Regions from separate parts of the Homo sapiens genome. Here regions 2 and 3 are each linked to region 1. The links are contacts of gene promoters, found by promoter capture Hi-C in blood cells and fetal thymus (Javierre and others, 2016). All regions are on one chromosome and are shown on one strand. Each heading gives the region's core, a stretch centred on a gene start or on the middle of the fragment in contact. The rest is flanking DNA. Distances are from core to core; before and after follow the strand shown. Region 1 holds the start of TUBB2B (tubulin beta 2B class IIb). Region 2 has its middle 25 kb from the start of PRP4K. Region 3 has its middle 43 kb from the start of PRP4K.

Region 1 (3,061 bases), core at 400-2,899:
GCAGCTGAAAGGCAAACAATTTTACACTATATTAAAGCTAAGTTGGCACACCGCGGATGTTCTTCATGCTTTCCCTCTGGCAATCACACCTCTTCAGCCTCCACTGCCCAGCGTAAAATGAATCCCTCATGCTCTCAGCCACACCAGGCACTCACCAAACACGAAATTGTCTGGTCTGAAGATCTGGCCGAATGGTCCAGACCTAACCGAATCCATCGTGCCTGGCTCCAGATCCACGAGGATGGCCCGAGGAACATATTTGTTACCTGCAAGGAACAACAGTGACTTAGACCCTCAGGCAAGGACCTCTGCAGAGAAGGGCTTGGCGCCTGCTGCCATCATGCAGATGTTGCCCCAAACAAAGGGAGACCCACCATCAGGTTCTCAAAGGGCTCTGTTGGCATAAGGAAGCCCAATGAAATACTGCAGGGAAAGAGCGGGGATCCTAAACTGAATAGTCCACCCTCTCCCAGGGCCACACCCCTGGGGTCCCACGCAAGGGAAAGGGGAGAAGGTGGAAAAACTGAAGGGAGTGGGGGTGGGGCAAGGGTGATTACCAGTGGCTTCATTGTAGTAAACATTGATTCTCTCCAGCTGCAAATCACTGTCTCCATGGTAACTGCCAGTGGGGTCAATCCCATGCTCATCACTGATGACCTCCCAAAACTGAGACAGAAAGGCTGCATTTAGCCATGAACGATGCCCCCAGAAACGCCAAGGCTCACAATGAAATGTCCCCGACTCAGTTCCGACAACCCAACATTTCAGGAGCTTGAAGCTTTAAAGGGCGTCGTGACCCGGGCACAGCCGCGGGGCTTGTATTTTGCAGGTTCAGAAAGTTGAAACTGGGCGTTTCCCAGGCAAACAGCTGCCGCTCGCGGGGGGAGGTAGGGGTCGAGGGGGTAAGGACCAGCCAAAGCCGGGCAGTGGCGGAGCTTGGCGCACTGGTCGCAGCCCCAGGCTGCGGCAGGAGGCGAGGGCACAGGGACTGCAGCCCGCCAGGAGCGGGTGGGCGGGGAAAGAGGAACGCAAAGGAGCTAAAGGACCGCGGTTTTAGATTCAAAGCACGTCCTGAGACCGCAAGACAATCGCTCTCCTCCCCTCCCCCGGCAGCTCGACTCCGGTTCAAGCGAGTACAATTAATCCTCCTGGTGTCCCAGCCCCTCGCGCGGAGCGCCGCGCACAGCCTCGCGGACACACCCTCGTCTTCTCCAGGCACGCGTGCCTGCCAAGCAGCCAGCGCGGAGGGAGGCCGAGGGGGTGACGGGGACTCCAAATGAGTTACAGCAGAAAGAAAGAGAGGTGCCCCCTCCGTCCGCGAAAGTCACCTCCTAGCCCAGGCCACACTCGGCGGCACAAAGCGGCCAGGAAGGTCTGCATTTGGCGATCCCCAGGCCTTCCCAGGACCGCGCCTGGGGACCCCGAGGGGCTCTCGGCCCAGGTTCGCGCCCCCATTGGACCCCCTCCGCTGCGGCGCGCCCACCTTGGCGCCGATCTGGTTGCCGCACTGGCCCGCCTGGATGTGCACGATCTCACGCATGGTGCCTCGTCAGCGTCCTCCTGGTCCGGCGGCGTCTGGGTCTGTCCGTCCTCCCCTCACACACCCACTGCGGGGTCACCGGGAAGGCGCTCGGGAACCGACGGGCTGAGAGCGCCGGCCCCGCGGGCTCCGGCTTTTATGCAAGGAGGGTGGGGCGGCCGGCACAGGCCGCGCCCCCAGCCCGAGCCCCCCAGTCCCCTTCGCGCTGGCGCTCTCCAGGCCCGGCTGACGTAATGCTCCGAGCCCTAGGGACCGTCCGGGGGGCTGGACCACCGGCCCGCGGCCAATCAGAGCGGGCGTGCCGACCGGGAGAGGGGTGGGGGCTACCGGGAGTATGGTGGGGGCGTGCGCATTGTCTGGGGCTGTGGTGGGGGTCTGGGTATGGGGATATGGGGGAACAGTGAAGAAAAGGAGGGTGAGAGGGCGGCGAGGCGAGGGCCACCAGCGCGTCCTGACCGGGGTGGGGGCAGAGCTGGCACCGGATGGGAACGATGGAGGACTGGAGCATGTGGAGAAGCCGTCAGGTGCTCCAGTGCCGGCAGGTGGGAGGGCTGAGGTGGCACAGGCTGCTCCGCCACCTCGGACTGCGGCTCCTACTCGGCCACTGGCCAGAGTCCCTCCAGCCAACTGCCCCTGGTGAGACCACCGTCTTTTTCCTCAACCCTGGAGGCCAGCGACTGCCCAGGCGGCGCTCCGTCTCACAGAGGCCTGGGGGAGGACAGGTGGCCCCAGAAGGAAGTCGTGCTTGATGGCAACCGGGACACCTGCGGCCCATGAACACCAGCGCGGCCTCCGCCCCCGCCCCAGCGTGGGCCTGCTTTCTCCTTTGTCTGTCTTGGGCTGGTAGCTCCTCTCACTGCGCCGCAGCATCTAGGGGTGAAGCGACCTCGGAGCCCCTCAGCCCTGCCCGACCCTCTCCGGGAGTGCATAACGCCCCTGCTGGTACCCAGGAGCCCTCTGCCCCGGGGGTTGACTTTTGTTGCTCGCTAGTGATGGAGTGGGAGTGGCCGGTGGCGCTGCACTGACCGTCCGGAGGGCAGAAAGAGGGTGGGGTCCCGGGGGCGGGGCTGTCGGCGGAACAAAGGGCTCTCAGAAACGTGGGATACGCTGTGTAACCCAGTATTTAAAACCACACGACAGGCGCCCCACCCCCCCACCCCGCCCTCGGATTCAGTTCATCTATTGTCAAGTAAGAGGGTGGGTTCCAAGGGTGGCCCAAGCCCGAGTAACAAACTTTCTTATCTTCCATCGCGGCGACCTGGAGGTCCGAGGCTTCGTGCTGCGGTTGAAGGGTGGGGAATACGACTAAAAACTGCAGCCCAGCGCGCGCGAGACGACCCAAGACCCACGCGCACTCGCACGAGCGCGTGCACAGACTTGGAGCACAGACCCTCCCTTCAGATCCGCAGTCTCTAGGTACTGAGGCAGGAACTGGTCTCTTTGTTACTTTTCGCGCGCGCGTGTGTGTGTGTGTGTGTGAGAGAGAGAGAGAAAGAGAGAGAGAGAGAGACTAATCCTGCG
Region 2 (3,061 bases), core at 292-2,791, 770 kb after region 1:
TGCACTGAGCTGGGATCGTGCCACTGCACTCCAGCCTGGGTGATAGAGACATACCCTGTCTCAAAATAAAAATAAAAATAAACTAACTGTAAATTTGGGCAAATTCCTTAACCTCTCTGAACCCATTTTCCTTGTGTGAACATGAAAATAACACATTCCCCAAAATTAATGTGAGGATTAAATGGAATAATGTATGTAAAGTATTTAGCACAGAGCCTAGCATGCAGTAAGCATTCAATAAATGTAGGGGAGAAGACGTGCAATATTTGACAAAAACATTTATTATCAATTTATTTAAAATGCATGCTTTAAAAAGAGTAAAATATGTGAACAGTCAGCTTGAATAAGTAGAAATAATGGTGATTAATAATCACATTAAAAAGTGTGTAACTGGCTAGGCATGGTGGCTCACGCCTGCAATCCCAGCACTTTGGGAGGCTGAGTGGGGGGATCACCTGAGGTCAGGAATTCCAAACCAGCTGGTCCAACACGGTGAAACCCCATCTCTACTGAAAATACAAAACTCAGCCAGGCGTGGTGGCAGGCGCCTGTAATCCCAGCTACTCGGGAGGCTGAGGCACGAGAATCACCTGAACCTGAGAGGTAGAGGTTGCAGTGAGCTGAGATTGTGCCACTGCACTCCAGCCTGGATGACAGAGTAAGACTCTGTCTCAAAAAACAAACAAACAAAAGTGCATAACTTCTCAAATAGAAATTTAAAATAAAAGAACAAGATATATGACTGTATTTCTTAGGCAGTAATTTAAAATAAAAAAAAATTGATAATGCCTGAGCTAGTAAGAATGTAGTGAATCACTCTCTTACATTTTACTAAGAGTATCCATCGGTACACGTTTTAAGGTAATTTGTTGGTACTTATTAAAATGTAAATGTTCACAATTGCTTGCCCTCACAGTTTAATTTCTAAGAATTTTTCCTACTGAAATACTGATTTAAGGAAGCAAAATACATAGTATTTGCAAGGATGGCTAAAGAAAAAAACAAAACTACAAAAAATAAAGCATATCTACAAATGCTATTATGAAGATTCAAAATATATACCAGAACAAGTTGTATGTATGTATAGTATGAGCCTTTTATTGTAAAAAACAATAGTAACTATGACATATATGTTAATGTGTTCATAGAAAAATAATCTATGTCTAGAGGTTAAGATTACGGTTGTTTCACTTTTAGTATATTTTTATGTTTAAGCTAGAAGCTTCTATAAATGAATAGTAATTATATATTAGTAGTAATTTACAATTGAAACACTTTAGAGGGATACCAAAGTATGAGAGGTGGTTTTCTCAGGAAGAAGAGAAATGGCGTCTGATGTTCCAGCAGAATGGAGACAGACACCAGGCTGTCAAAATCATCACTTGACAAGCTGTCTGCACAGCAATAGTTAACACGCAAATTAAACTTTTCATATACTGGATTCATAGAGAAATGTGGTGTAAATTTACCGTTACTTTAACTTAAGAAAAAAGCTGCACTACTTTTTCATAATTTAGGCCTTCCTTAACCCTGAGAAGGAGGTCCCTCTCTTACTCCCTCTTCTTACTTGAAATGGACTCATGAGTGTAAATTCAAGCATGTCTGTGCAAATGCTCTGCAATGTTCAGAGAAGAAAACTGCTAGATCATGGGCATCTTTAACCTAGGTTTGTGTGGAGCAGCAATGAGCATGCAAGCTGTTCCAAGGAAAAGTTAATTTTACTGCTTCATGTCAGTAAAAGTTCATATGTTTTATTTTACTATTCCAACATGAAACTTTATATTTAAAAACCTGAAAACTATTTTTAAGTACAGCAGTCTTTCTGCATATAGTATTACTCACATGTGTGCAAATTCTGCTCAAAGCTTCGATTTAGTTGTTCCCAAAACAGTCTCTCCCTTCATATACTGTACCTCTAAATTAATCCTACATTGAGTTTAGACTATTAACATAACGTAGGCCAATCCCTGTTTAACTTGCCAATCCAAGTCTTTCATTCCTAATCTTAAAAGTGCTTCATTTTTAAAAAGCACTGAAGGAAGTAAATGCATGGAAATGGAACTTGCCTAGCAGTTTCATGTGTAGGCAGATACAAAAGACATCTGTGTAGTAGTAATCCAGGAATCAGATTACTCTACTGGCTCGTTTTTTCAAGGATGGTAGAAGGAATGGGCGTAACCATGGAAATGTTCCTTCCCAAAACACAAATCTTAAACAAAACCCAAAAGCCTAGAAACATCAAAAAACCCAGGAACTCTAGCTTCCAACAGAGAACTCAACATCACCATGACACAGAGTAGCTAAAAAGAGATCCTTCCAAAAAAGAAAGTGCTACAAAAACACAGCCTTTCGAAATTTTATCCCAGGCAAGATGCCTTTTATTCTGTAAAATAAAACACTTGTCAGCAATAACAGAAATGAAATGTGTGTCTAAAATCTTCTTTAGAAGGACTATTATTCAGTAGCTCAATTCAGTCACTTTAGATAATTGTGGTGTGGCATTTAAATCCTAAATTAAAGCTCTTCCTCTACTAGTTGACATGGAAGTAATTCTGTGGGGGCTCTTGGTCTAAACTTAGCTGGAAACAACTAAAATTTGGATAAATTCATATAAAAACAACAGTCTCCTTTGCCAAAGAAGCTGGAATATGGACTGACAATATTGAAATAAATTAAACAAATGTTTATCATATACTATCATGTGCTAAGCACTTTCAACTGCTAGGCAAACAGCTGCCAACAAAAATAGATGAGAACTCTGTAATTTTATAGAACTTGTGAAAATAAGTAATTCAAAATCAAAGCTATTGGAACGTTATTTTGAGCCTTAAAGGAATGTGATTATACGACCTGAGTCACTAACAGGCAGCTGTAACCTTTATTTCCCTAATTACGGATTAGCCTTGAATAAACTCAGGTGAGCCACTGTACCTGGCTTTGAGAATTTCAATAAAAGAAAAGGAGGTGTGCCTGAAACTTCAAGACTAAAAGAGATAAATTAAGGAGGGCCAATCATGGAGAGGTTTATAGGCCACAGTAAGGAGCTGGATTTTTTTTTATG
Region 3 (3,061 bases), core at 290-2,789, 750 kb after region 1:
GGTAGATCATTAGATGTACAGTAAAAGACACTACTCCCATTTGCATTCCTTGATTTTTAAAACTTCGTATCTTTGCTGTGGGGGAAACTACATCATAAATGAGTCACTGATTCGGAGTATGTTCTGCATCTCATCGGGTACTAAATCAGCTCCACAAAGTTATTTTATCAACTGGCACCATAACTGAATCTTCAAAAGCCCATTCTGCCACTCTATCAAGCCAAGCTTCAGGATGATGGCAAACATGGTAAGACCAGTGAATTCCAAATAAAGGCATTCACAACATCATGCTTTCGTGAGCACATTGCTGCACTTCATTTGCTGTGAAATCAGTTCCTTGTCAGAAGCAAAGCTAGGAAGAGTGCCACTATCATACATTAGGTATTCTGTAAGTAAGTCCAGAGATGACCATTTTGGAGGAACCACTGTGGACAGGGAGGGCAATCCATCCATCTCCAGTGAGAACAAAGCAGTGCTTCTGGCAAGATGGAAATGGTCCACGTTACTTAAACTGTTGATTCCCCCAAATAACAGTGCCACATCATGGGCTCAATGTTTGTCTCTGCTGTTGGCAGGCTGGGCACCCTGCAGGAGCCATTTGCAAATCAGACTTTCACCGAGCCTAAGCTCAGCTCCATCCCTGCCACCTTGGGAACAGAATTCTGGGAAGTATAGTTCCCAACCTCAGAAGAACGGTGGTGTCATCAGGTTGACAAGAGGCAATCCAGCACAGATGTTCTCCTTGCCTCTCAGTGTTCTGAAAGGTCATTCCGATGTGCTGGGCCTTTCTGCATCACTGCAATGGGCACTCAGGAAGCCCTTTCTGTACAAAAGCACATGTTCTCAAGTTCGTGTAGATTTTTATTATTTTAGTTTCTTCTCCTTTGTTTACTCTGTTCTCTCTGGAATTCCTAATATCATGCACCTCTGAGTTGATTCTCTAATTTTCTTATCTTTTCCCTTCCCTTCTCTCCTTCTGTCCTCCACACTGCCTTTTTTGTTCTTTCTGGGATATGTTATTGACTTTATCTTCCAAAGTATCTGCTTATTTATTTGAAGATTTTTAAAGCTTTTTATTTTTAAATAATTATAGATTCACAGGAAATATTATTTCAAAATTCAAAAAAAGGTACTGGGATGTCTCATGCACCGCCCCCCCAGACTCCCTCACTGTTAACATCCTGAACGACTATAGCATAATATCGAAAATGAAAAATTGAAATTGGTGGTGGCGGCAGCACGGTGGCAGGGGCAGCAAGGCGGCTGCAGCAGCTGTAGAAGAGGTCAGCTCAGCCGGCCAGTTTGAGGAGCTGCTGCGCCTCAAAGCCAAGTCCCTCCTTGTGGTCCACAATGTGCACAGATGAACGAAGTTATGGCAGAGTTAGCTAAAGAACACCCTCAAGTTTCATTTGTGAAGTTGGAAGCTGAAGGTGTTCCTGAAGTATCTGAAAAATATGAAATTGGCTCTGTTCCCACTTTTCTGTTTTTCAATAATTCTCAGAAAATTGACCGATTAGATGGTGCACACATCCCAGAGTTGACCAAAAAAGCTCAGCGACATCTAGTGGCTCCTTCCCACCCAGCACTGATGAACATCTTAAAGACCAAAAAAGCTCAGCGACATGCATCTAGTGGCTCCTTCCCACCCAGCACTGACGAACATCTTAAAGAAGATCTCAACCTTCGCTTACAGAAACTGACTCATGCTGCCCCCTGCATGCTGTTTATGAAAGGAACTCCTCAAGAACCACTCTGTGGTTTCAGCAAGCAGATGGTGGAAATTGTTCACAAACATAATATTTAGTTTAGCAGTTTTGATGTCTTTAGATCAAGAGGTTCGACAGGGGCTCAAAGCCTATTCCAATTGGCCTACCTATCCTCAGCTCTACGTTTCTGGAGAGCTCATAGGAGGACTTGATATAATTAAGGAGATACACGCATCTGAAGAACTAGATATAATTTGTCCCAAAGCTCCCAAATTAGAGGAAAGGCTCAAAGTGCTGACAAATGAAGCTTCTATGATGCTCTTTATGAAAGGAAACAAACAGGAAGCAAAATGTGGATTCAGCAAACAAATTCTGGAAATACTAAATAGTACTGGTGGTGAATATGAAACATTCGATATATTGGAGGATGAAGGAGATCGGCAAGGATTAAAAGCTTACTCAAATTGGCCAACATACCCTCAGCTGTATGTGAAAGGGGAGCTGGTGGGAGGATTGGATATTGTGAAAGAGCTGAAAGAAAATGGTGAATTGCTGCCTATACTGAGAGGAGAAAATTAATAAATCTTAAACTTGGTGCCCAACTATTGCAAGAAATACTTAATTACATTGGGAGCAGTTCATGATTTAGTCCTCAGAAATGGGCTAGGAATAGAAAAATCCTGCTTACTCAGTTACATGTTTTTTGTATTTCACAATGTCGTGCTAAATAAAAGTATGTTACATGTTTTCCCACTAAAAATAGAATGCAATAAACATCTTCAAATTATTAACAATAACTGTATAAAAAAGTGTATCTTTACAGCAATATTAAACATACAGCTACTAGAAAAAAACTGAAATTGGTACAATCTACAGAGCTCATTCAGATTTCACAAGTTACACATGCCCGTGTGTGTTTGGCATAACTTTTTGCAATTTTATCACTTGTGTTGTCTTGGATAGCCACCATCACAATCAAGATACACAACAGTACCATAGCCGTAAGAGTCCCGCATGTTACCACTTTATGAACATACCTATTCCCTCTTCCCCCATTCCTAATCCCTCACAACCAGTAATCTGTTCTCCATTTCAAAAATGATGTTTCATCAATGTTGCATAGATGAAATCACGCAACATGCTTAAGATTGGCTTTTTTTCACTCAGCATAATTTCTTCTAAGCTATGTGTGTGTTGTTTTTCTGTTTTTACTGTTAGTAGTATTTCCACAGTATAAATGTACTACAATTTGTTTAATCATTCACTCATTACAGAACATTTGGGTTGTTTCCAGTTTGGAACTATTATAAATAAAACTGCTATGAACATTTGCATATCTATTTATTTATCTTAGT

What was found. Contacts are between HindIII fragments. The CHiCAGO score rates a contact against its expected background, and 5 or more counts as called.
Region 2: a contact is called between a fragment that was not itself captured here and the fragment with the promoter of TUBB2B in region 1, in 2 of 17 cell types (M2 macrophages and activated CD4 T cells). The highest score is 5.4, in M2 macrophages.
Region 3: a fragment that was not itself captured here is called in contact with the fragment with the promoter of TUBB2B in region 1 in 2 of 17 cell types (monocytes and M1 macrophages); the score reaches 5.8 in monocytes.

Annotation. Positions count from the first base shown.
Region 1 is chr6:3,226,004-3,229,064 of GRCh38, forward strand. TUBB2B (tubulin beta 2B class IIb) reads right to left here and starts at 1,650. Exons shown (of 4, transcript NM_178012.5): 1 at 1,484-1,650; 2 at 558-666; 3 at 156-266. The coding sequence starts at 1,540. RefSeq lists enhancers at 633-1,293, 1,294-1,952 and a silencer at 1,557-1,846. The HindIII fragment of the contact is 13,618 bases long and covers 777-3,061 here.
Region 2 is chr6:3,995,170-3,998,230 of GRCh38, forward strand. No RefSeq gene overlaps it. Among named protein-coding and RNA genes, the nearest start is that of PRP4K, 25 kb to the right of the region's middle. The HindIII fragment of the contact is 643 bases long and covers 1,221-1,863 here.
Region 3 is chr6:3,976,815-3,979,875 of GRCh38, forward strand. It overlaps the pseudogene GLRX3P2. Among named protein-coding and RNA genes, the nearest start is that of PRP4K, 43 kb to the right of the region's middle. RefSeq lists a silencer at 1,481-1,775. The HindIII fragment of the contact is 944 bases long and covers 1,068-2,011 here.